Linked DNA regions of Homo sapiens: all the other regions are linked to region 2. The links are contacts of gene promoters, found by promoter capture Hi-C in blood cells and fetal thymus (Javierre and others, 2016). All regions are on one chromosome and are shown on one strand. Each heading gives the region's core, a stretch centred on a gene start or on the middle of the fragment in contact. The rest is flanking DNA. Distances are from core to core; before and after follow the strand shown. Region 1 overlaps DYNC1I1 (dynein cytoplasmic 1 intermediate chain 1). Region 2 holds the start of DLX6 (distal-less homeobox 6). Region 3 overlaps DYNC1I1 (dynein cytoplasmic 1 intermediate chain 1). Region 4 overlaps SLC25A13 (solute carrier family 25 member 13). Region 5 overlaps DYNC1I1 (dynein cytoplasmic 1 intermediate chain 1). Region 6 has its middle 120 kb from the start of MIR591. Region 7 overlaps DYNC1I1 (dynein cytoplasmic 1 intermediate chain 1).

Evidence for each region. Contacts are between HindIII fragments. The CHiCAGO score rates a contact against its expected background, and 5 or more counts as called.
Region 1: a fragment that was not itself captured here is called in contact with the fragment with the promoter of DLX6 in region 2 in 1 of 17 cell types (monocytes); the score reaches 5.4 in monocytes.
Region 3: a fragment that was not itself captured here is called in contact with the fragment with the promoter of DLX6 in region 2 in 8 of 17 cell types (naive CD8 T cells, naive CD4 T cells, total CD4 T cells and 5 more); the score reaches 9.4 in naive CD8 T cells.
Region 4: a fragment that was not itself captured here is called in contact with the fragment with the promoter of DLX6 in region 2 in 1 of 17 cell types (naive CD4 T cells); the score reaches 6.2 in naive CD4 T cells.
Region 5: a contact is called between a fragment that was not itself captured here and the fragment with the promoter of DLX6 in region 2, in 1 of 17 cell types (naive CD4 T cells). The highest score is 5.4, in naive CD4 T cells.
Region 6: a contact is called between a fragment that was not itself captured here and the fragment with the promoter of DLX6 in region 2, in 6 of 17 cell types (naive CD8 T cells, total CD4 T cells, non-activated CD4 T cells and 3 more). The highest score is 6.4, in naive CD8 T cells.
Region 7: a fragment that was not itself captured here is called in contact with the fragment with the promoter of DLX6 in region 2 in 12 of 17 cell types (naive CD8 T cells, naive CD4 T cells, naive B cells and 9 more); the score reaches 10.4 in naive CD8 T cells.

What each region holds. Positions count from the first base shown.
Region 1 is chr7:96,012,212-96,015,736 of GRCh38, reverse strand. All of the region lies in intron 10 of DYNC1I1 (dynein cytoplasmic 1 intermediate chain 1), which reads right to left. LOC124901700 (a long non-coding RNA gene) reads left to right here. Exons shown (of 3, transcript XR_007060440.1): 3 at 738-789. Among named protein-coding and RNA genes, the nearest start is that of MIR591, 210 kb to the left of the region's middle. The HindIII fragment of the contact is 2,831 bases long and covers 821-3,525 here.
Region 2 is chr7:97,003,875-97,006,960 of GRCh38, reverse strand. DLX6 (distal-less homeobox 6) reads right to left here and starts at 1,408. Exons shown (of 3, transcript NM_005222.4): 1 at 548-1,408. The coding sequence starts at 983. All of the region lies in intron 1 of DLX6-AS1 (DLX6 antisense RNA 1), which reads left to right. RefSeq lists a silencer at 558-657 and an enhancer at 1,970-2,691. The HindIII fragment of the contact is 12,379 bases long and covers 1-3,086 here.
Region 3 is chr7:96,046,973-96,050,404 of GRCh38, reverse strand. All of the region lies in intron 14 of DYNC1I1 (dynein cytoplasmic 1 intermediate chain 1), which reads right to left. LOC124901701 (a long non-coding RNA gene) reads right to left here and starts at 423. Exons shown (of 2, transcript XR_007060441.1): 1 at 1-423. The HindIII fragment of the contact is 7,205 bases long and covers 1-3,432 here.
Region 4 is chr7:96,143,157-96,146,238 of GRCh38, reverse strand. The region is part of intron 14 of SLC25A13 (solute carrier family 25 member 13); the gene reads left to right. Among named protein-coding and RNA genes, the nearest start is that of MIR591, 75 kb to the left of the region's middle. RefSeq lists enhancers at 1,514-2,348, 2,349-3,082. The HindIII fragment of the contact is 1,614 bases long and covers 580-2,193 here.
Region 5 is chr7:96,029,104-96,032,318 of GRCh38, reverse strand. The region is part of intron 11 of DYNC1I1 (dynein cytoplasmic 1 intermediate chain 1); the gene reads right to left. The region is part of intron 1 of LOC124901700 (a long non-coding RNA gene); the gene reads left to right. Among named protein-coding and RNA genes, the nearest start is that of MIR591, 190 kb to the left of the region's middle. The HindIII fragment of the contact is 2,962 bases long and covers 1-2,826 here.
Region 6 is chr7:96,098,644-96,101,803 of GRCh38, reverse strand. It overlaps a transcript of DYNC1I1 not described here. Among named protein-coding and RNA genes, the nearest start is that of MIR591, 120 kb to the left of the region's middle. The HindIII fragment of the contact is 4,033 bases long and covers 1-3,160 here.
Region 7 is chr7:96,063,275-96,066,850 of GRCh38, reverse strand. All of the region lies in intron 14 of DYNC1I1 (dynein cytoplasmic 1 intermediate chain 1), which reads right to left. Among named protein-coding and RNA genes, the nearest start is that of MIR591, 150 kb to the left of the region's middle. The HindIII fragment of the contact is 9,866 bases long and covers 1-3,576 here.

The sequences.
Region 1 (3,525 bases), core at 987-3,486, 990 kb after region 2:
GGCTGCAGCATAGAAAATACCAGAAATGTGTCCTTGTGGGTTCATTTCTAAGCTGAAGGCAATTCCCTCTTACCGGAACATTTATGTGTACTTGGAAATTCAACAGACAAATGGGAATCAAATTCCCCAGAGTTCAACTTGAGCTGGTTTTTAAAAGGACAAAATAACAAACCAAGAGATAAAGAAAAATATGTGAATAAAAATTCTGGGGGGGGATCAAATGATTAAATTTACAACACTTCAGGGATTTTTCTCAGTCCACAAGGGAAATACTATTTTCAATCATAAGACGTAGGATGTACACATTAAGGGGCATTTACATAGAGGCTGAAATTTCCAGTTCAGGAAAAAGAGTCTAGAGGCATATTAAAGACCATCTGTCTGTAGGATTCTATTCTGAACCATGTTCTTCATTGAATTTATATGGGAGATATTATGGGTCAGCTAGAATAAATGTGATAATAAATTCCTAAACATATGTTAGAGTACACCCAATGTATGTGTCAGTCAATTATCATAATAAAAAGCAACATTTTGCTTCATATAAATCTAAATTAAAATGCACAAGGGCAGTATTTTTTTCTTTTCCCTAAAAAAGAAAAAAATGATTTTATACAAAGAATAGGAACAGATTTCCCAGTAATTTCTGCTTTGTGCATAGACTTGTGATGATGTGTCTTTTATCTTTGGAATTGTTGATTGGTGAGATTCACAAAGTGCCTTGTGCAATTCTCCAGGAGTTGAAAAAAAGGAAGGTGTTCAATGATCCTGTGGAGCCAGGAATAATATGAAACCAGATAATGAAGAGTTAAGGAAAGCTTCTAAGACTGCTAATGAACTCCATCCTGCCCTGGTAAGACCACCCTCCTTTTAAGTAAGAGGTAATTTAATATGCATCTAACTCAGTTGTGTTTGGGCTTCATCCAATCTATGAATATCAGTGTGATAAATTATAATGAATTGTCTGCAGTACTTCACAAAGTGACTATAACAGACCTGAAAAACAAGATCCGTAGCTTGATTTTCCAGCTTCCTTTGAATATTTTCTGCCCTATTCCTGTCAGAACATTCCAAAACTTGAAAATATTTCTTATAGTTCCCCACACAGAAAGTTATGTGCTTTGAGCCCCATTTGATTAGATCCACAGTTGTTGGCTGTCTCTATTAAATCAAGCCCCACACTTGAAAATGACACCAACAGTGAGACCAGCCAAATAATATAGCAAGAGAACTAACATGGCTCCTTTAGTTTCCAAAGGGTTTCTTTACATGTTAATTTCCCTTTGTAATCCACACGGTGTGCTGGGAAGTAGGTTAGTGAAAGGCACTGGGTTCCTATTTCAGATTCCGAAAAAGCAGCTGGAACCTTACATGTCTGCTGGGAGAAGGGGCAAAAACCGAAAAGGGAGTCAGGAGACTCACGTTCTGGAAAGACTCTCTTTCTATAGCTGTGTCACTTTGTTCATGGGACTTAACTCCTTTAGGACGTAGTTTCTTCAATTAAGTTAAGGGCCACTGCCTGAGAGAACAGGCCATCTTCCCTTTCTTTAATGGCTGTAGGGAGTTCCAGCTCTTCAGAATGCAAAAGCATGACTCTGTTCTATAGATGAGTCCTCCTAAGTAAAAAATGATTTGAATGTCATTAAGCTGTTTGTTTCCTGCTCTGGTCAGAGGACAGCAGCCCTTACGGTAACACACAAAGGTTGTGGGGAAGGGACAGGATGTGATTTTTTCCCCTTCATCCTAATCATAGGATACAGACGTAGTGGAAAGATCCATGAACTGGTACTCAAGACTGATTTTCTATGTGAAAATCATGTTAATTCTGTTGGGCTTAATTTCTTCATGGGTACAATAAAATGGATCCTTTGGAGTTGGAAGCCTCAGAAGGGCAGGAGATGGGCTTCTCTTCTCTCTGTGTTGTTCTTTGTGCCTCAGCCAGTTCCTAAGATTTGGTAGGCATTAGCATTAATTTGCTCTTGCTGCAGTAACAAATTACCTGCTAATCCCAGCACTTTGGGAGGCCAAGGCCAGAGGATCACTTGAGCCCAGGAGTTCAAGACCAGCCTGGGCAACATGGCAAAAACCTGTCCCTACAAAAAATACAAAAATTAGCCAGGCGTGGTGGTACATGCCTGTAGTCCCAGCTACCTGGGAGACGGAGGCAAGAGGATCACTAGAGCCCAGAAGGTTGAGGCTTCAGTGAGCTGAGATCATGCCACTGCACTCCAGCCTGGGTGACAGAGTAAGACCCTGTCTCAAACAAAACAAAACAAAACAAAACAAAAACAAATTATGACACACTTAGTGGCTTAAAACAACATAAATTTATTATCTTACAGCTCTGGAGGTTGGAAGGACTAAAATCGAGGGGTAGACAGTGCTACGTTTCTTTTTGGAGGGTAAAGGGGAGAATCAATTTCTTGGCCTTCTTTCCAACTTCTAGAGGCCACCCTCATTTCTTGCATCATGCCACCTTTCACCCTCAAAGCCAGCAAGGGTTGGTCAAGTCTCTCTCTCACATCACACCTTCTGATTCTGCTTCCATCATCCCATCTCCTTCTCTGAGTCTGACCCTCTTTGCCTCTCTCTCTCTCTTTCACTTATGAGATCCCTTGTGATTACACTGGGCCGACCCACATAATCCAGGATAACCTCCCCATTTCAAGATCCTCAATTTGTGAGATTTTAGGGTACCCATCACCTGAGCAGTGTACACTATACCCTATTTGTAGTCTTTTATCCCTCACCCCCATCCACCCTTCCCCAAGTCACCACTAAGGAACTTACTCATGTAAGCAAACACCACCTGTACCCTAATAACCTATGGAAAAAATTTAAAAAAATAATAAAAAAAGATCCTTAATTTAATCCTATTTGCAAAGTCCCTTTTGCCACTTGAGGTAACATTCACAGGTTCCTGGTATAAGAATAGAGATGTCTTTGGGTGGCCATTATTCTATCAGCGTGGTCAACAAATACTTGATAAACTTGTAAATATTTTGAGAAAATGATAAATTAAGCACTTCAAAGTATATGTAAATTCAGCTGATTCCCACAGCCCATCACTAGCTAAAGTCATGGTCACATATATATTGTACACTCCCAGACAAACAACCTTCATACTCACTCGAGCTCATGTTCACCTGAGTTTATGTTTTGGCTTTAAAAATGTACCCTAGTTCTATTTCACTTTCTTTCACCTGATAGAATATAATCTGTTGTGAGATTTTCCTAAAAAGGTTAATTTGAATTGTTTACTCCCATATTGAGACAGCTAAAGTTCCAGGCAGAATAGAGATTTAAAACTCCTTTCTACTTCCTATCTCTTACTAAACTCCTTTCCCAATTGCCATTTCAAACAGAACAACCAACAAAAAAGAAAGGATGGTAATCTTCAGACAGAAGCAGAGACGCACAGAGCATACTGTAGACCTACTAGCAAAAACCCAAACTCTGCTGTTATTTGCAACCCATGAGTGCATATACCCTCTTCCTTCAAAATAAATCTTTCAAGCCTAAGTT
Region 2 (3,086 bases), core at 159-2,658:
GAGGGACACTTTAAAGCCCACTGGAAAGAGCCTGACTGTTACTAGTTTAACCAGAGCGAAAGCCAGGCCAGCTTCCCTCCGAGTCACTGAGGAGCACGGGGCGCCCCACGCAAAGTAGGCCACTGCCTGCCCAGCGTGGGCTGGGAAGCAAAACACGCTCCCCAGTTCCGGCCCAGAAATGTCCCCAGCCGGGTCAAACGTGGGTTACAGCCTGGAGGGAAGGAGCAAGGAAAAGGGCGCACAGACCCAGGAGGCTGGAGAGCGCAGTGTGGACTAACTCGTCGAACGAAGCCTGCGCCGGGCCCGGGACTCAGCCCGAACTGCGCGTCGGAAGCTGAGGGTCCGCGGCGGCGGGAAGGGGCCCGGCTGGGAGAGGCCGGCAGGCAGGCGCCAGGCGAGCGGGCGCGCACGGGGCCCGGCCAAGGGCGCGCGGGGCCGCCTGGGGGAGGGGGCCGGCGGAGGCCCGGGCGTCGAGGAAGTGAGCGGGCGGGCGGGGTAGGGGGCAGTCGGGAGGCGGGAGAAGCGAGCTGCCCCAGCGGCCTCTCACCTGTGTCGTCCCCTCGCGTCTGGGCGGCTGCGCTGCTGTTGTGGTAGGACTGGAGGTAAGGGCTGTGCTGCGAGTGGCTCATGTAGGGGTAGGCGGCGAGCGAGCGGTGGTTGTAGGAGTTCCCTCCGCCCGACGCGTAGGGCGAGCCGTGGTGGTGGTGCTGGTGGTGGTGGTGGTGGTGCGAGCCGGCCGCTGCCGCCGCCGCCGCCGAGTGCAGGCAGTGCAGAGGGTAGTGCGCGCCTGCCATGGCCGGGGAGCTCTGCTGCGAGTGCGGCTGCGGCGGCGGCGGCGGCGGCGGCGGCGGCTGTTGCTGTTGCTGCTGCTGCTGCTGCTGCTGTTGCTGCTGCTGCTGCTGCTGCTGCCCGAACTCCATGAAGGCGGATTTGGACGAGTCCTGGCCTTCCAAGCCGTCAGCCATCGTAGTCATGGTCATCATCAAAAACTTTGGGGGCTGGAGAAAGCCTTCTCCCGGGTTTCCTCCACCCTCCCCCACTTGGCTCGCGCCGCTCTCCCCTCTGCAGCCACCTTAGCTCTTTGGATCCTTGCAAAAAAAAAAAAAAAAAAAAAAAAGAATTTAAAGAGGGGGGTGGAGGTGGTTCTCCCTCTCCCTCGCTCTTCTCTAATATATATATATATTTAATATAAAGAGATATAGTGAGCGGGGCCTTGTTAACTCAAAGGGAGGAGGAAGGAGGAGGGATGGGAGAGGAGAGGGGGAGGGGGGAATCTGCTCTCCCCCCGCCTGCTTTCCCCCCTTGGATTTTTTGGGGGCTGGTGCAGTTTAAGGCAGAGATTTTAAGGTGGATTCTGCGAAAGTTGCGCGTCTGCTTTCAGACTTGATGCAGACGCCACGAGTCGAATGGTTTGTCTCCAAAGGGCAGTGCCTCCCCATTGGTCAGTCGCCCCCTGACGTCACAGGCGCACGGCTTCTACTGGCGTGTGCGCGACTTGCAGAGTTCTTCGCCTACCTTCCGCAGTTCCAATCCCAGCCGGAGCTGCAGCCGGGGGCCGCGCTGTGTGGCGCCCGGGGCCGTTGGGGAGGGAGGCGCCTCTGCCCGGCCGGCCGCCGATGCTTCCCGCCGCAGCTCGTGCCCCAAATCCCGGAGCCCCAGTTGCCAATATCTCAGCCTTGAAACAGCCAACTGGGGGCTGCTCTCTTTCAATCCCTTTGCACCCTTGTAGGTTGCCTGTGCTTAGAAGCAGTGACCCCACCCCCGCATTAAATCCAGGCCCCCCTTTCTTGACGTCCCTGCCACTCTGGTCCTACTACACTCTTGTGGGAGCTCCTTGTCACCGTGGATTTTTCTAGACGTATTTTATTGAAACCACAGAAGGAAGACGAACCCTCACACCTGGGCTCCACCCCACTGGGGGGTGGTACAGAAAAAGAAAAATCAGACCCTGTTCTGGCTCGGTCCCTGCCGTTTCAGGCCGTATTTCTTATATATTGTACAAAAGGTTGTGGGGGGGGGGGGCGTCTTTTTTTTCTTTTCAGAACGCAGCAGCGTGTTCTGAAAACGAATCGTTGGAGGACTGACAGTAATGCATTTTTTCCTATTGAAAACAGAAGCTACTGTAATGCTTTCAAATATATGCAAATGATACATGCGGTTAGTGGTTTGGCAAATCTTGATTACAATATAAACTACCCAAGTAAAAGTGCCTTCGTCCTAAATTTGTCTCTCGATTACAATTCCAATTGATTTTATTTTATTGTCAACATTGTTAATGATAAAAATAGAGTCGTTTTACAGTTATTTTTACTTTCTGGAAGGAGGCAATTAGAGTTCTAATCAGGAATACACAAAAATCTCCCATGATTAACTGCAGTACTTTGTTCAAATTGCTGCTATAAAATTCAGAACAATTTGCCTGTAATGATTATGGACTGGGTTTATTTTGGGAGGTGGAATAAAAGTGGATATAGCATAAATTATCCTCTAATTATACACCAGTGTCGCCTCAATTATCCTCTTATCAAAATGGTTGTCTAACTGCCGCATTTAGTTTCAATTCTCTCCTTTTTTTCTATAAAAAGAACTTCATACCTTGTTATTATTAATCCATTTATTATTTGCAAGGGGATTTATATCCGCACATCCAGGTGGTAGAACCACTTCTCTTTCAAAGATGGACTGGGGAAAGACATTAAGTTCGGAGCAGCCCAAGGCTGCGGATCTAGCCTTTCTCCCTCCGGTCTCCAGACCCACGCAGGTTAAGGCAGCCAAGCAGAGACAGCGGAGCCCCGGTGCGTGGTTCAGGCCTGGTCAACAGGTAGGAGGGCCAGACTGGGGGCCAGGCACAGAGGAGGGCAGGCCCGCCCGCACCGGCGTCCAGGGTCCCGGGTTCCGGGTCCCGGGACTGGAGGAGGTCGCCGGCAGCCCGCCCTTCCAGAGGCTTGAGATTGGGTGGACGAGACCTGAAGATCCTCTCGGTCTGGACCCCGACTTTCGATCTGCTTAGAGACCTAAGCCGCGAGCCTTTGCCCACACGGAGAAACGTACTATCTAATATCTAACAACCCTGTACTGCAGTGTCT
Region 3 (3,432 bases), core at 491-2,990, 960 kb after region 2:
TCTAAGATCCCATGTAGAGAAGTTTCATTTTAAATTTGGATCTTTAAAATCATCACTTCTCTCTTTCAGTATGTGAAGTGTTATTGTCTCTCTGGCAATCATTTAGCTATGCAAAGTGAATTCATATGGACTTCTCTATAGGCTTCAGGGTGAGATTCATTTTGCTCACTGTGCTAATTCCAGCATGACATTCCCCCTCGAATACAGACTTCCTTTTTTAATATTTTATTATTATGTTAGACATGTGAATTCTTGGGCAGTAGAGTGTATAAAATGCATATTTCTGTTGCCAAATTTTCTTGTTGTCGAATTGTTTGCTTTTGATCTTTTCTGGTTATCTTTTTGAGCTATACTGTTTTTTTTTTTGTTTGTTTGTTTTTTTTGAGATGGAGTCTCTCTCTGTCATCCAGTCTGGAGTGCAGCGGCTCACTGCAACCTGTGCCCTCCAGGTTCAAGCAATTCTCCTGCCTCAGCCTCCTGAGTAGCTGGTACTACAGGCATGAGCCATCATGCGTGGCTAATTTTTTGTATTGTTAGTAGGGACGGGGTTTCACCATGTTGCCCAGGCTGGTCTCGGACTCCTGAGCTCAGGTGATCCGCTCACCTCGGCTTCCCAAAGTGCTGGGATTACAGGTGTGAGCCACTGTGCCCCACCACTATACTGTATTTTATCAACAAAGTATTATATTGCAGACTTTTAAAAAATTTGATTTCATTCTATTTCATAGTGTTGTCTCTTAGCACCAATTCTTTCTACGATTTGGAGGATTTTTCCTTATGTTATTTAATTTACAAGCTGAAGTGTGAGGCTATCACTAATCCTATTAAGACTCTATTATAAACTTCTTTGCCTTGTTTAAATGATAAGATGACTCCAAGTTACCCAATAAGTTTAAAGTAAAGATTATGAAGGTAATCATTATTGTCAAAAGGGACTACAATAATTACCCATCTCATATCTTTGTCTCCGCTACACTTCCATGAAAATTCTCATTGTCAGTAAGATGGAAAAAGGCCAAAAAACTCCATTTCCAATATTTTCAAGAGAGTATTTTTTTTACTTTGCCTCTTTTATTAAGATAAAGGTTATTTTCAGCCATAGTCCTGCAAAATGTGATTAGTAATTTTTTTTTTTTTTTTTTTTTTTGAGATGGAGTCTTGCTCTGTCACCCAGGCTGGAGTGCAGTGGCACACTCTTGGCTCACTGCAAGCTCTGCCTCCTGGGTTCACGCCATTCTCCTGCCTCAGCCTCCCGAGTAGCTGGGACTACAGGCACCCGCCACCATGCCCAGCTAATTTTTGTATTTTTAGTAGAGACGGGGTTTCACCGTGTTAGCCGTGATGGTCTCAATCTCCTGACCTTGTGATCTGCCTGCCTCGGCCTCTCAAAGTGCTGGGACTACAGGCGTGAGCCACTGTGCCCGGCCTGTGATTAGTAATTTTAAGAGATGTGATTGCTTCCTTTAAATTTTACGCTCATAGAGATTAAGAAGAGGAGAAAGCCATTAGCCCATATTGTCAAGTTTCAAGCGTAACTGTTTAGGACAACATAAAGGGTTAGAATTAATTTGGGGTTTCAAATACATTCACCGTACAAACCTCTGGCCAGAACATGTAGCATATTCATTATATGAGGAAACCTTGTTGCAGGTGGGACAATAGTTTTCATTCTCCTGTCTGAACCCTAAACTAGATCCCCAGTTCTCTAACACAACCCTGGGAGAAAGGAAGGGTCCCTCAATGTAACTGAACTGCCCCACCAGCTCTGTAGGATGGGATGTTTGAAATAGAACTTTACGGTGGTTTAGGGCATGGCTCTTTATATTTTAGCAACATCTGGATTACTTGGAAGGCTTCTAAAACACAGATTGTTGGCTCCCATCCCCAGAGTTTTTGACACAGAAGGTCTGGGGTGGGGCCCAGACGGTTTGCATCTCTAATAAGCCCCAGGTAATGCTGTTGCTTCTGATCTGGGGCCACATTTTGAGAACACTGGCTTGGAAGAATTGTAAAGAAGTGGTGCATCTCCCAAACCTGGATCTGTTCACCTGCTCTAGTAATGGTGGGGACAGACTGTGGACAGCTTTGAATGTCAGATTCAGGAGATTCCTGTAAGAGATTCCACAATGGCAATTTTACACAATTCTTGGCACTCTTCTTATCACCTCATAAAATTTAAATTAGATATCACCTATGAAATACATCTGTGATATTTAGCCCCAGCTGGTCCTCAAATCTATGCAGTTCAGGGCCCTGTCCCATCTCTTACAGGACCTGGTCTAATCCTCCTTCCTCTCCCTACCACATCCCAGTTCCCATCATCGTTAACAGATAACTGCCTCTGACTCCACCGAAGAAATGGGGGACCTTCTCTTCTTTCCTCCTTCTCCCTCCACTTCCATGTAGCTAAACTTACTTGTAAGCCTTTTTTTAGTCTTGCCAATATCCTGCCTCTTCTCCCTATCCTAAACCTGACATGGTCACTTGAAATAATCTTCCTCTGGTTTTTTCTTTTAATTTAATTTTTATTCCAATAGCTTTTGGAGTTCAAGTCGCTTTTTGTTACATGGATGAGTTATATAGCGGTGAATTCTGTTCCTCCATTTTTTAAACCATACACCTTTCACTGGCTCCTCTTCAGGCCGCAAATATACTCAGGTCTCTCAGAGAGTATAATAATAAAATCCTTCCTTGGCCTGGCTTTCCCTGCTAGTCGCCTCTCTATCTCCTTATGTTCACTGCCTCATGTCTGAAAGACTAGTCTATATTTTCTGTGTCTACTGTCTTCCCTTTTCACTCTGCAACCACTCACAATCTGTCTCCAGTGCTCCACTAAAAGTGTTCTCACTGAGGTCCACGTGACCCTCTTCTTGCCTTGCCATCTGTGTATTTCTTGATATCTCTGGTGTTTAACAGTCTTTATCACATTCTTTATTGAGCATCCTGTTCTCACGCCTCAGCACCTGCAGCATCAGCAGGTCCAAGATTGCATTCATAGCCTCTTCAATTCATGTTCTATTATAATGTTCACCTTTGGAATAAATGATGGATCACTGTCATATCTATATTTCTAACTCATCCTTTGCCCCTGAGCTTCAGTATTACGCTGTCAATTGAATATTTGTGTCCCTCCAAAATTCATATGTTGAAACTTGATCCCTACTGTGATAGTATTAAAAGGTGGGAACTTTAGGAGATGATTAGGTCATGAGGGCTCCACCCTCATGAATGGGATTAGTATCCTTATAAAAGAGGCTTCAAGGAGCCTGTTAGCCCCTTCTTCCATGTGAGGATGCAAGAAGAAAGCACCATCTATGAGGCAGTGAGCACTCACCAGACACCAAATCTACTGGCACCTTGATCTTGGACATATCAGCCTCCAGAACTGTGAGCAATAAAGACTATTGTTTATAAGTTACCCACTCTAAGTTG
Region 4 (3,082 bases), core at 137-2,636, 860 kb after region 2:
AGTTCAAGGAGAAACCTGTATCATAATTTATTTTCTGATCCTATGCATATGGTCCGATCCATGTTTTCTCTATATATGTATGCCTTGTCTTAATTATTATAAATCTTAATCATTTTTCATTTAGAAAATGTTTTTTCAGAATGATTACAAAACCAAACTTCTAGATGATTCTTGAAATTTTTTATTCATACTGCTCTACCAAAAAGTTATAATGGAATTTACTAGAACTGTCTGCCTATATGCCAACCTATAAGGCTTTATCAAACATAATGTATACACAAGTTTTCAATGAAGAATTTTTTAAAAAAACATTTTACGCTAGCTTGACTAAGTAAACCTTTAGGGATATGGGAGAAAAATAAAATGTCTACTTAAGATAGTTTCATTTATTTACACAGAAATGTATACAGTCACATTATATAAAATTAATACTGCTTTGTTTCTATAAACACATATCAAGAAATATTAAAATTATTCATGAATTTTGAATCAGCATCTTGAGCTCCATTTAACCCACTTTTTAGGTCATCTGTTAGCATGGTTTTGCAGAATACATTGTCTTCATTTTTATCCCAAGCTTTGTAATTTGAAGCATTTTTGACTTTTATGTATGATATTGTTCCTGCAAATTTTATCCCATAGACACATAATATTAAGACAGTCAATTGCTTTTTTCCTATTCCCAGTTAATCCTGAATGGATATAACTGGTCCCCATAATGTAACAACTTACCATATTGCTAGAGTAAACTTGAAATGACTTGTTTTGACATTTGACACAGTATTTGTGAGATCCTCCTCCCAGAAATACTTTTTTACTCTTTTTCTTTCTAACCTGAGTTTTGCAAGTGACCTCAGTAAACATCCAGAATTAGTAATAATTGTGGCTGTCTCAGGAGAATCTCCCTTCCCCGAATGGTACTCTGCTTCTCCAGGTCAAGTGATTGGAAAGAGTACTCCATGATCTGAGACTTTGTGAAGATTGAATATAAAGTGATGCCCTCTTTTCTGGGATTAATTTTAGCAGGGGAAAATTTTGCCTTATATTTAGGCATATGTGGTACTTAGGAATAAACCTGCTGTTTTTTTAAGTAGAACTTAAAATGCTCAATCTGTGATTCTACAATATAACACAATGTTCTATAGCTATTTTGCTTACCAATTTATTACCCAGCTGTAAAAAATAAACACTGTTGTCATGAGGCATAGCATTGATCAATTTGAAGAAAAATCATCTTTTCTAAATTTTTAGGCTCTTGCAGTCTGTAATATGATGTAGCAGCATGTCATTTTGACAAGATGCCAGGAGTCTTTCAATGGGTTGTCTGGTAAAAAGCACTTAGGTACTGTGGCAGTGACTGTTATTGAAATGTCTAGATGAGTAAAATGGTAGGAACTTGTTTGCTGATACAGAAACAGAGACTGTTAAACTACCTGCAAATGATACAATACTGGGACTTAGTGCTTTTCATCTTCACATTATTTAATAATCTTAATCCCCTTTAACACTTCTTGGAAGTAGTTGGTATCCTGGTTTTGTAGTTCAGGTGAATAGAGGCTGCCAACCATGGTATCTGAGCTGAAATTGAGGCTCAGAAGTTTCTTGTTTCCACTTTTGTGCTAAAATTGCTTTCCTGAAATGAGCAGGATTGCTCAAGTTTGAGCAAGAGAACTCTCCCATATGAAGTTAGTTTAATTACTAGTCTAGTAGTTTAATCTAGTTCAGAAGCATTCCACAGGGCTTGGTGCTCCCTTCTAAAATGCTGTTTTTGGTGTACTGGTAATTACCAAGAAAATCAGTAATGCTTTGAGCTTCTGGAACCTTGATTTTGTTGCAAGAAAGTGACCTAGTAATCTCTATCTTCCTGTTGGTCATCAGTATCAGCTACATTCAGAGACCCGGGAGTCAGGATTTCATTCAGCAGATGTTGACCTCTGTGGTTTGGTCTCCTTTCAGTCTGATTAGCTCTTGTATTACAAGTCTGGTTGGTCCTCATTTATATATTCCCAGCATTCTGTCTTGGGCTTTGTTTCATGTGAACCTCTCTTCTCCAGCCCCACCCCACTTCACCTTTACGTGGTCAGACATCACAGCAGGTTAAGATCCATCTTTCTAGGGAGCATCACAGCATTAGCATTGCTTTGTAGTTTAATGTGTTTTTGTTTCAGGATAGCACTTTTTAGTAATAAAGCTTTTCTGTTTCTAGTCCTGGTTGGCTAGAAAAATGCAAATGACTAGGGGTGACCTCACACAGTACTTTTAAACCTGGTATGTGTCCCTCCAGGTGGGTCTTTAAAAAGAAGAACCACTGTCCTAGATTTAGTTGAGACAGGTAATCTTTCTCCTTCCCTCTGTTCTTTTGTTTCTGTTGTTAACATTACAATGCCAGACCCAAGAAGGGTGAGTGGTTGGCTCTGTCTGTGTGTTTAGGCCTGCTGAGCTTTAACCTTACCTAAATTGGAAAATCAGGCTTTCTGTTTTTCTTCTGTATTGACTTGCAAAATAAGCAAACTATTCTGACTTCCCAGTAAGTGGCAATTAGAATACTTGTTTTAGAAATACATTTGCAACTGAAAAAAAGTGGAAAATGGTAAACATTTTGCATTCCTAAAGTAAGAAATAGTTTAGCACAAATATAGTAAACAATGTAAATAAAGCCCCCCTCTAAAATGCTAACATTTAGAGAGATTTAGTTATAGCACAGAGGATGTAGGTGACTGAAGTGAAGGCAGCATAATTAATTGCCTTTGAAAGAGCTATTTGAATGTAATGTAGCTAAGAAAACAAATCTGCAATGTCTACTTCTTTTTAAAAAGAATTATGAGAATGTATTTCCCTTTCCCTGCATAACTTCTGTTTTATTGCATAAACCCCTGGAGCATAAAAATAAAAGTCAAATAAACTTAACATAGCAAAAAAAGTTGTATCCATCTACTTTTGAACATTACCTTTTCCGTAGGAGCTGTCAGAGCGTTAATGAGGGGACAAATTATACTTTAGGAATGGAATGAAACTTATCATTTAACAGTAAATGGCAGCACAGCTAATTAGGCCAAAAAGACGCTTCGTTAGGAAGCAGTGG
Region 5 (3,215 bases), core at 96-2,595, 970 kb after region 2:
AGCTCAACAAGAGTGATGGAAAAAGACAGTCTTCAAAAGGGTAGAACTACTGACTTTTGGAAGGAATACATGTTACTAAATCTGGAGTTTAATGCATTATAGTCACAATGCCAAACATTTGTTAACATTCTTTATAAAAAGTGGTTAATATTCATAACCATTTTAATCTGGGGGAGAGATACTAGTGGTGAGATTATTGGCACAATGTACCTGGTGAGATAAAATTAGGTTCTTCTATGTTACTGCAAAATCTAGGATAATAATATATTTATTTTTCAAAATACCGTTTGCAGTAGTATAGAGGCTTAGATTTGGCCAGGGCATTGAGAAAGGTCATTTATACATCCCAGGAACCATACACAAGATGTTGTAACCCTCTGTCATACTCTAGTGGGTTATCCCACTCTGCAGAATTCTAAACGGTAGGCTAAAATCATTTGCAGCTGTGTATTAAACACAAAATGGAAGGTTACTATGAGCAGAACCTACAGCAATTTGGGTTAGATTTCAGGCAGTTCAGCCACCAGTGGCCAAACCACACTTACTTGGTGCTTCTTTGTGCAAATAGCTGACAGTATCAGTCTTACCCTTGGTGAGTTACTGTCCATAATACCTAGCCACAACTACAATGAAACAATATTTAATATTGGAAAGTTGCTATTGTATAAAGGATGGTTCCCAAACTATTATTATCATATAAACTGCTGGTCAGAAGGAGTGGTAATAATCATCTAATGTAGCTACTCATCTGCCTCAACCAAGAGGTGGTCCAAACTCTGCTTAAACACCTTCCTTAAAGGGCAGCCAGTTTTCGTAGTATCCTGGGGGAGTTTTTTCTTCCACTAATGGGGATAAAGAAAGTTCAAGGAGATACTTCCAGTGCAGTGCCCTGTGGGACCAAACCAAACTAATCAAGTCAAAACAGTACAGCTTTTTGAATATTTATAGATAGTTGTTCCCTGTTACTCCTCTCCCTGCCAAATCTTTTCTTACCCAGACTGTCACTAATTCCTTCATCTGTTCCTTGGGTACCTGGTTTTCAAAACCTTTCCTATCCTGGTGAATCTCTTTTGAAAATGCTGTATTTTGTCTGATTCCTCTTCCAGTGAGGTTCTGAGAATAAAACAGAACTGTCTACCTATATTCTGACCAGCAGAATATAGAAACCTGGGTAGCATTGAATTATCACTTCTCATGTGATAAAAAATATGCCTGCATTTAATGCATGCTAAGATTACATCTGCTTTTTTGACAATTATATCACCTCTTTCCCCCGTGCTGATGGACAGTCAGCTAAGTCCCTATGTCTTTCACACCATGTCCCTACTGAAACTTCCAAATGAGTCAGCCTTAGTGGATCTGCACATAGTAAGTACAGCAGAGATCTGAAGCTAAATGTTATCCCAATCAGTTCTCTAAGTATCAGGAAGGCTGACTGGTTGTGGGATTGTAGGCAATGCTCTTTCCCAAGTCTCTGGTGTATGTAGAGCCCCAGGCAGTGTATTATCAAGCCCGGAGCCACACAGCATGCTAACCTCTGTGTGGAAATCAAATGGAAGATTGGATGTAACAAATTTTCACCTGAAAATGGTATAGACTTAGTAAAACTGAAGAATGGGAAGGCAGGGTCCAAATACTGTTATGAACCTGAAATCCATCTTGTTTTTCAACAAGAGTCCAGTGGGGCTTCTTTGATAACCACTGAGCATCAACACAAATCATTAAACACTAATGGATTAAGACTCAGAAAGGTCCAGCAGAGAAAGAAAGCAAGTCTAGAAGAATGTGTAGAGCCATGTGCCCGGAGAAAGTGTGTGTGGCAGCCCCTCCCAGGCTTTAATCAGCACTACTGGCCTGTGCTTCCATGAGTAATAAAACTCAGTTTAAGAGAAAAAAGAGGTGTAATGAAACCAAAACAGAAGCAGACACTGGAGCATGCCTACACACACACACACACACACACACACACACACACACACACACACACAACTCTACCATTAAGGAAGAAGAAAGCTACAGTATACCCATTTTTCCAGTATAGATGCCAGATTGTTTTTATTTATCTTGGAAATAAACTTACTGTGTGCCTGAGGGATTTTGTTTTACTTATGATTTCCTGTTGTCTCAAATGCATATGTGTGGTGGGTGTGAAAGGAAATTAGTGAGTAATCTGTGGTGGGCCTCTTTTTCCTTTTTGATCCTGGTACCAATCAGTCAGCCAATAGTGAAAGTTGAAAGACAGTCACAAAATTAACTGTTCACTTTTAGCTATAGATTAGAGAAAACAAACAAACAAAATCCCCCTGAAAAAAACCAAAACAACAACAACAACAACAACAAAACAGCAAAAGCGAAAAGTGGACAAGTTTTGTTTCTTTTTCCTTTCTTTTTCTTTCTTTTTTTTTTTTTAGAGGAAGTCTCCCTCTGTTGCCCAGGCTGCAGTGCAGTGGTAAAATCTTGGCACACTCCTACCTCTGCCTCCTGGTTTCAAGCGATTCTTATGCCTTAGCCTCCCAAGAAGCTAGGATTACAGGCGTGCACCACCACACCCAGCTACTTTTTGTATTTTTAGTAGAGACAGCGTTTCTCCATGTTGGCCAGCCTGGTCTCGAACCCCTCAAGTGATCCACCTGTCTTGGCCTCCCAAAATGCTGGCATTAGAGGTGTGAGCCACCATGCCTGGCCTATTTTATTTTCTAACAGAAATAACATCAGTAAGTTTGATAATAATAGTATTTTAGTTGTGATGATCACACTCTAAGTTACTCACAAAAGAAATGTTAATTTTTTGGAAGAGCTCCTGGTTTTGAATTTTCCCCAAAAGCTTACTGCTAAATGTTCTAACATTTGGATTTACAATTTTGGAAATTTCAGAAGGTATGTTCAGAAATACACCAGCCATCCAAACAGGGCCAAGGCATGGTTTCACACTACTTCACCAAACACCTGCATCAAGCCCACCTTCTCCTGGGCCACAATTTTCTGTTATTAGTTTGGGGAAATGGGGCAGGCAAGAGCAATTTCCCAAGATTCCCAAGAACTAGTTTCACCTGCAAGTGTCTTTGGCCCCAGTCAATCAGAATTGGGGCTGACTTGGTATTTGTCATTTCCCATTGATAATCTTACAAGAGTAGGAGATTTTTCCTCCTCATGGACTTAGCTAAACAGCTGGCAGTCCTTTTTCATGCCAGAGTGCTTTTGAGTCCAGCATATGA
Region 6 (3,160 bases), core at 76-2,575, 910 kb after region 2:
AGAGGTCTCCATTTGGCCCTCCCTTCTGTGAGAGTTCTTATCCCAGAGGCCAGGTACCTGATGTAAGTATATCAATTCTAATTGAACACTCAAGGATTGGAGGAATGACGGAATGACCCACTGTGTGTGTACATAGACCTAATGAGCCCATTGAGACCTAGACTTTAGTAAACACTCCATTACATTACCTTGTTGCCGTAAGCCACCACTCCAATAACATTTCAGTGTGAACCCAGATAATGTACCCAATAGTCTTCAAATGTTGGTTTGTTTCTTTCTGCATTGTATATTCACCTGAATAAATGCCCATAGGTCCTTTTGGGGAAGGACTGGGGAGATCATCACAATAGATGTTTGCAGTGGTGTCCTCCCTCCTGGTGTCCTCCCTCCTAGCAACCTCCTAGCAATCTTCAGTCAATGGTTTCTGGATTGGAAAACTGGCTCAGGACTGGACAGTGAGCAGAGGTATGTGGCTTTTTATTGAGGTAACAGTCTTCAGTCTCCTGCGTCTCCATTCTTGCTCTATGTTTTTGGTCATAGAAGTTAAGCAACACCCTTTTGGCTGCCTGTCTATTTTGCCACTAGGAATGCCACGTTCTTTTAATTACTCCCACAACTTCCTATGGGTAAAGCCTTCTTGGCTGCTCTCTGATCTAGCTGGTCATTATGGCAGTTGTGGCTTCCTGACTTCTGGTGGTTAACTGCCACCACCTAGCCACTATTACTCTGGGGTCTCATCATCCCCATGGATGTGAGCAAGCCCCACTCTGTGACTGCCTCTCCTACCATCAGCCCTGACCTACAAAGGAAAGCTACTGCTAAACATTCTAGAGATGCTAATGCCTCTCTCACCAGCTCATTGCAAATGGCTTTGAAGGGTGTGTACTCTGGGTGTTCCTATGTAACATAACCCTTGAGTGTGTCTTCTGAACTTAAATAATATATCTATTCTAACATACCCATTTCCTTCAACCTCTTTATTCCTTCCTGTACTACCAGGGCAACTCAGACATTTTCACTCTAGTGAATGTAGGCTACAGCTTTTTCAGACTTCGAAGAGTGACCCTATTCTTTAGGCTCCTTGCCAGAGTATAAAGTCATATAGCTTCCCTCTTCCTTACCACACACACACACACACACACACACACACACAAAACCCTCAAAGTCAATGAATTATTCCTTATCTAATCAACATTCTGGCTCCCTTGATTAAACACCTCAAAATCTAATCCCAGTGCTACTCCCCGGGCTCCTAATGGTACATGCTAATTTTTGCAATTCTTTTGAGGTAGTTTCTTTGTTCTTTTATAAGGCCTAGGACATCCCTAGCCAGCTTAGGCAGGACAGCCATCAGACAGTGATGTTTGTCAGGCCTCAAGAAGGAGAGAGGGAAAGGGAGGAGAAGAAGGAAAGAAGGAAGGAAAGAAGGAAGGAAGGAAGGAAGGAAAGGAAGGAAGGAAGGGAGAGAGGGAGGGAGGGAGGAAGGGAGGAAGAGAAGAAAGTCAGCTAGTCTTGGACTGAAGTACAGTTCTGAGAAAGTTTTAGCAATGCTGACATAAAGTCCTGGAGCCAAAGTTACTTCAAAGAAGTCTTATGTCTCCTAGATACAGGCCAGCCTTAGGATCTTTGCCATACTTAGTCTTGGCTGGCAAGAGCATGCAGGAAGCATGACCTTGGTCAAACTTGGTAATGGGTTTCAAAGCAAGGCATCATAACTGTCATTCAACCATGTTCTCTGCAATAGGAAATCTGAAAGGCACATCTTTCTGGCTACCACATTTCATCTGGGACATCAGCTGGGGTGACTTAAATGGCTGTGGACTGGCTGTGTATTTCTCTTATGTCTACATGACCACTCCATGGTCAGCTTCTGTGTGGCCTGGAAGTCTCAGGGTAGTTGTGCTTCTTACATAGTAGCTCAGGGACCAAGATTGATTGTGCCAAGAAACCTAGGTGGAGGATATATGTCTTCTTATAACCTTGCCCTGGGCTGTGGACTGAATGTTTATGTTCATTCCCAAATTCATATGTTGAAGCCTAAATCTTCAATGTGATGATTTTTGGAGGTGGGCCTTTGGGAGATAACTGGGTCATGAGGGTGGAGCCCATATAAATGTGATTAGTGCCCTTATAAGTAATGACATGAAAGAGATCATCTCTCTCTCTCCTCACCATGTGAGGATTCAATGAGAAGATAGCCATCTGCAACCTAAGCAGATGGCCCTCACCAGATATCAGATCTGCCAGCATCTTGACCTTGGATTTCCCAGCTTTCAGAACTGTGAGAAATACAGTTCTGTTGCTTAAGCCACTCAGTCTGAATACCACAGTATTCTGTTATAGCAGTCTGAATTAACTAAGACATCCTGGAAACCACGTAGCAGTCTGAATTAACTAAGACATAATGGAAACCATGTAGCATCACTTCCCAGTATTGTGTCAGTCACATAACGTCAGCCTGGATTCAACAGGGGATGGCCTGCACAAGAATTGGGAACTGCCTTGGAGACCAGCTACCACAGTGGGATATATAAGAACACATGTTCTTGTAACATTTTATGTGCCTACTGTAAGTGACTCAGGCCTTTGTACTTTTCACATCATCACTCACCGAATCATTCAATTTGGTCTATCATAATAATGCACGCGTTTTGCATTTTTATTCTTAGGTACTTTACTGTATGTCTGTGAAACTTTTTTTCCCAGTACTTTTCATTCAAATGCTTTTAAACCTATTCCAGATACTCATTTGTTATCTATAAAATTTTTATTGTTTACAAAGGATTTCAATATCTAAATATTGTAGGCTACTTGGAGAAAAAGTATGATACTATTTTAAAAATAAAAGAAACCGTACAGTTGAAGGAATCCCTACCAACAAAGTCCCAATGGGAATTCCCTTCCTAAAAAGCCGAAAGCCTGTCTTCGAATGTTTTTCATGACTCAACCGCTATTTGTTTTCATTTTCCCTGGGCATAAAATGACCTTTTGAAAAAAAGTTTATTGAAGTTGTTTATAGACATATTTCCTAGTCCAATAGTAATAAACATCATTTCTGGTGTAAATTGTTTTTAAGAAGAAATGTGTAGGACATTTGGTATTTGTTCGTCTTAACCTACCTTTCTTACTCCAACAACTGTCTTTGGGCAAGGGTGGCTTT
Region 7 (3,576 bases), core at 879-3,378, 940 kb after region 2:
CAGGTAAGAGAATGAAAATTATGATATAATAAGAGAAGAATATTGCTTATTTGGGGATCTGTTTTCTCACTTTGTTCTAAAAGGATTTATGGAGTCTTACAAGTTAAATATACTGCAAAATTAAGAACAAACACACAACAGAGTTCTAAAGAAGGGAGGTAGAATACATAGCTATTACCAGGATCCTGAGATAAGCTGATTATTACAATATGGTTCTGCAACAGCTCTAAATTTCCTGATAACTAAGACAAAAGGGAAAACACATCATATCACAAGGAGGTACCCAGGTTTTTACCATCTGAAGAAAGGAAGAATATAAATTCCCCCTCAAAGACACAATTCTGGGAAAAACTCTGGGAGGAATTTACCATGTCTGCAAATCACTGGAAAACAGACTGGCTCTCTGCCTTGTTTATACCAAAGAAAGAGAACAAGTATGTAGCCAGGTGCTAAATTCTGTGGTACAGATGTTAGGTGCCAGAGGAATTTGAAGATTGGGGGTGGTAGTGGTGTGTTGGTGTTACCAGAGTCTGATGTGGTCAAGGATGGTATTATCTAGGACAGGTGAGGGAACCTGCCTTGAAAGATACATAGACTTTGACAGATGGTAAGGAAAACAGTCAAGAAGAGGAGAGCAAAACATGCAAAAACCTGGTTAAGTCAGTATGGTATTCCCAGACGGATATAAAGATGAGAGGTGGGGACAGCCTGAGTGAACTCTGAGGATTTGTCCTAAGAAATAATGAAAACAAAATAATTTTGGTTTGGGTAGGGGAAAAGTGGGGTATGTTATGAAAAGTCTTGGGTATGTAGTTAAAACTTTTTGCTGCAATTAGCTATTAATGTATTAAATGTGCATTGATAAATGTGCTATGTGCTAAACAGATTCAGAGATGTTTAACATTCACAAGAGTGTTTTCAGCTTTTCTAGTGCAGTCAACTGAATGACGAATACCATTAAATGAGTAGAAAATAGAAAAAATAGAGAAATAGAGGAAGGTCTGATCTGTATTTTAAACACAGTGCATTTGAGTCTCTGGTAGAGACACTCAGGTTAGGCTGACAGTGGAAGTGCAGGTCTGAAGTTGAAAGAGAGAGTGGGCCTGAAGTCCACACTAAAGAATCAGTCACACGAGGTGCTGTGGGAGAGGAAAGAGCCGGGATGCTCGGCGCGGTGGCTCACGCCTGTAATCTCAGCGCTTTGGGAGACCAAGGCGGGCAAATTGCTTGAGCCAAGGAGTTTGAGACCAGCCTGGGCAACATGGCGAAACCCTGTCTGTACAAAACAAACAAACAAACCAAAAATTTAGCCAGGCATGGTGATGAATGCCTGTAGTCCCAGCTATTTGGAAGGCTGAGGTGGGAGGATCAATTGAATCCTGGAGATAGAGTCTGCAGTAAGCCATGATTATGCCACTGAACTCCAGCCTAAGCCACGGAGAGAGACCCTGTCTCAAAAAAAAAAAAAAAAAGAAAGAAAGAAAAAAAGAAAAGAGTGGGGAGGATGGAGAAGAAGGAGGACTATGGAGGAAATTTTGAGCATTTGGGCTGAGAGAGTAGAAGAGAGAGAACCAGTGGAGAGGACCTAGACAAAGCAGGAGAACATAACTGGGCTAGAGAGAGCTGCAGGAATGAGGGGTGGATAATACCAAGAAACCATTGAATGTAGCAATTAGGAATTCGTTGATGGTCTTAAACTGAGAAGTGTTGGAAGATTAATATGGTTGGTTGAGGGTGGTTGGCAAATGTGGCAATGGTCCATGTGGGTGCACGCTGATTCTTCAAGTGGTTTGCAAGCTAACCCAAATTTTAGGCCATGTTTGAGATATTTTAATCGAACCCATCTAATCATCAACCACTAATATCTAAGCAAATCATAACACTACTACATGAGTGTGTGTCTAGGGCTGCCTTTTTTTTTTTGCCTTAAGACCACCCACTGTCCATTTAGATACACCATCCTTGATTTTTTGGACCATTTCTTACTTTGCTTTCTGTCTCAAGCACTTGGCATACAATCTGGCAAATGGAAGGCAGATAAGATGGACTGTAATTAGGTGATGAACGCAGCCTTGAGTTCAGTCCTATTTTGTCTGACACCTGTGAACAGAGCCTTCAGCCTTCCTCTGATGCTCTGGGCTTGGGCTTTCCTAGACTCCCCAGGACCAAACCTCTACTCTCTCAAATGGATTTTTGATTTGGCATCCTCCTTGGGATAACTATTGTGCTTCTAGCATGTTACCTTGGTTCAGAACCTTTCCCCTCACTTTGGTACCTTGAGATGTAACCTCTGATGAAGGTCACATTTGCTGCCCAGTCATGGCAAAGATTTCAGCATGTTTGAACACCACGGGAAAAGATCAGGAAACTGCTACTGAGCAAGAAAGCTATATGAAAAATCGTAATGAAAGGTAGGCCACTAGTGAGTTGGATAGTAGGAAATCTAGCCACAAATTTCCTGTGGATCACAGGGACAAAGCAATGGAAATTAAATGTCTGATTAATTGTATCTCATTAAAAACAAATAAACTTATCCTTTGACTTAAAGCATCAGTATGTCCCTGAAACACACAAATTTCAATTGGAGAGACACTGAGAGAGGGAGAGAGAGAGAGAGAGAGAGAGAGAGAGAGAGAGAGATATGAATATTTCTTTCCATGAAATATTCTGATATGTTTGGTCTGGAGAAGAACAATGATGCTTAGAAACAAGCACTGACTCTAAAGAAGCCTGAATCCAAACCAGCACCACAGGGCAACTAAATACCCTGCACCAGTCAGTAAATGTATTCTGAAGATGGTGATCAACGGTCTCTGCATTCAGCATCAGCCAAGCCACCTCTCCCGCTAACCACATTGCATCAACTGTTCCCGCTGCTTTCCCTCGACATCCATGGGTCCTTCAAGGTTCTGTTGCCTCTGGGATTCAGCCTTGGAGAGACTGGAGCCCTTCAATATAAGGATTAGGAGGTGGCGGTAGTGAAAGGCCTTATGGTTAACTCTTTATTTGTCCATAACCAAGGATCAATTGTGATAATGAAATATCTTTAGCTCTTATGGGTGGAATTATCACCCTCTCTCTCCATCATCAAATTCATATGGTGATGTCCTAATTCCAGTACCTTGGAATATGAGACTGTTGTTTGTGGAGGTAAGGTCTTTAAAGAAATAATTAAGATTAAATGAGGTTGTATGGGCGGGCTGTAATCCAGTATGACTGGTGTTCTTATAAAAAGAGGAGATTAGGACACAAACGTGTACAAAGGGAAGCCCATGTGAAGACACAGGGAGAAGGCAGCCACCTACAAGTCAAAGCGAGAGGCTTCAGAGGAAACCAACCCTGATGACACCTTGATCTTGAACTTCTAGCCTCCAGAACTATGAGAGGATGCATTTCTGTTGTTTAAACCAGGTTGTGGTAGTTTGTTATGGCAGCCCTAACAAACTAACATAATTCTCAAATGAGAAGAGAAGGCAGACTTTTTTTTTCCTCTTGGCCTCTAATGCACAGACACATGCGCACAGTTCCCCACAATTCTGCACTTATGTAATTCCCCCAACAGTGCAATTTGAGAGA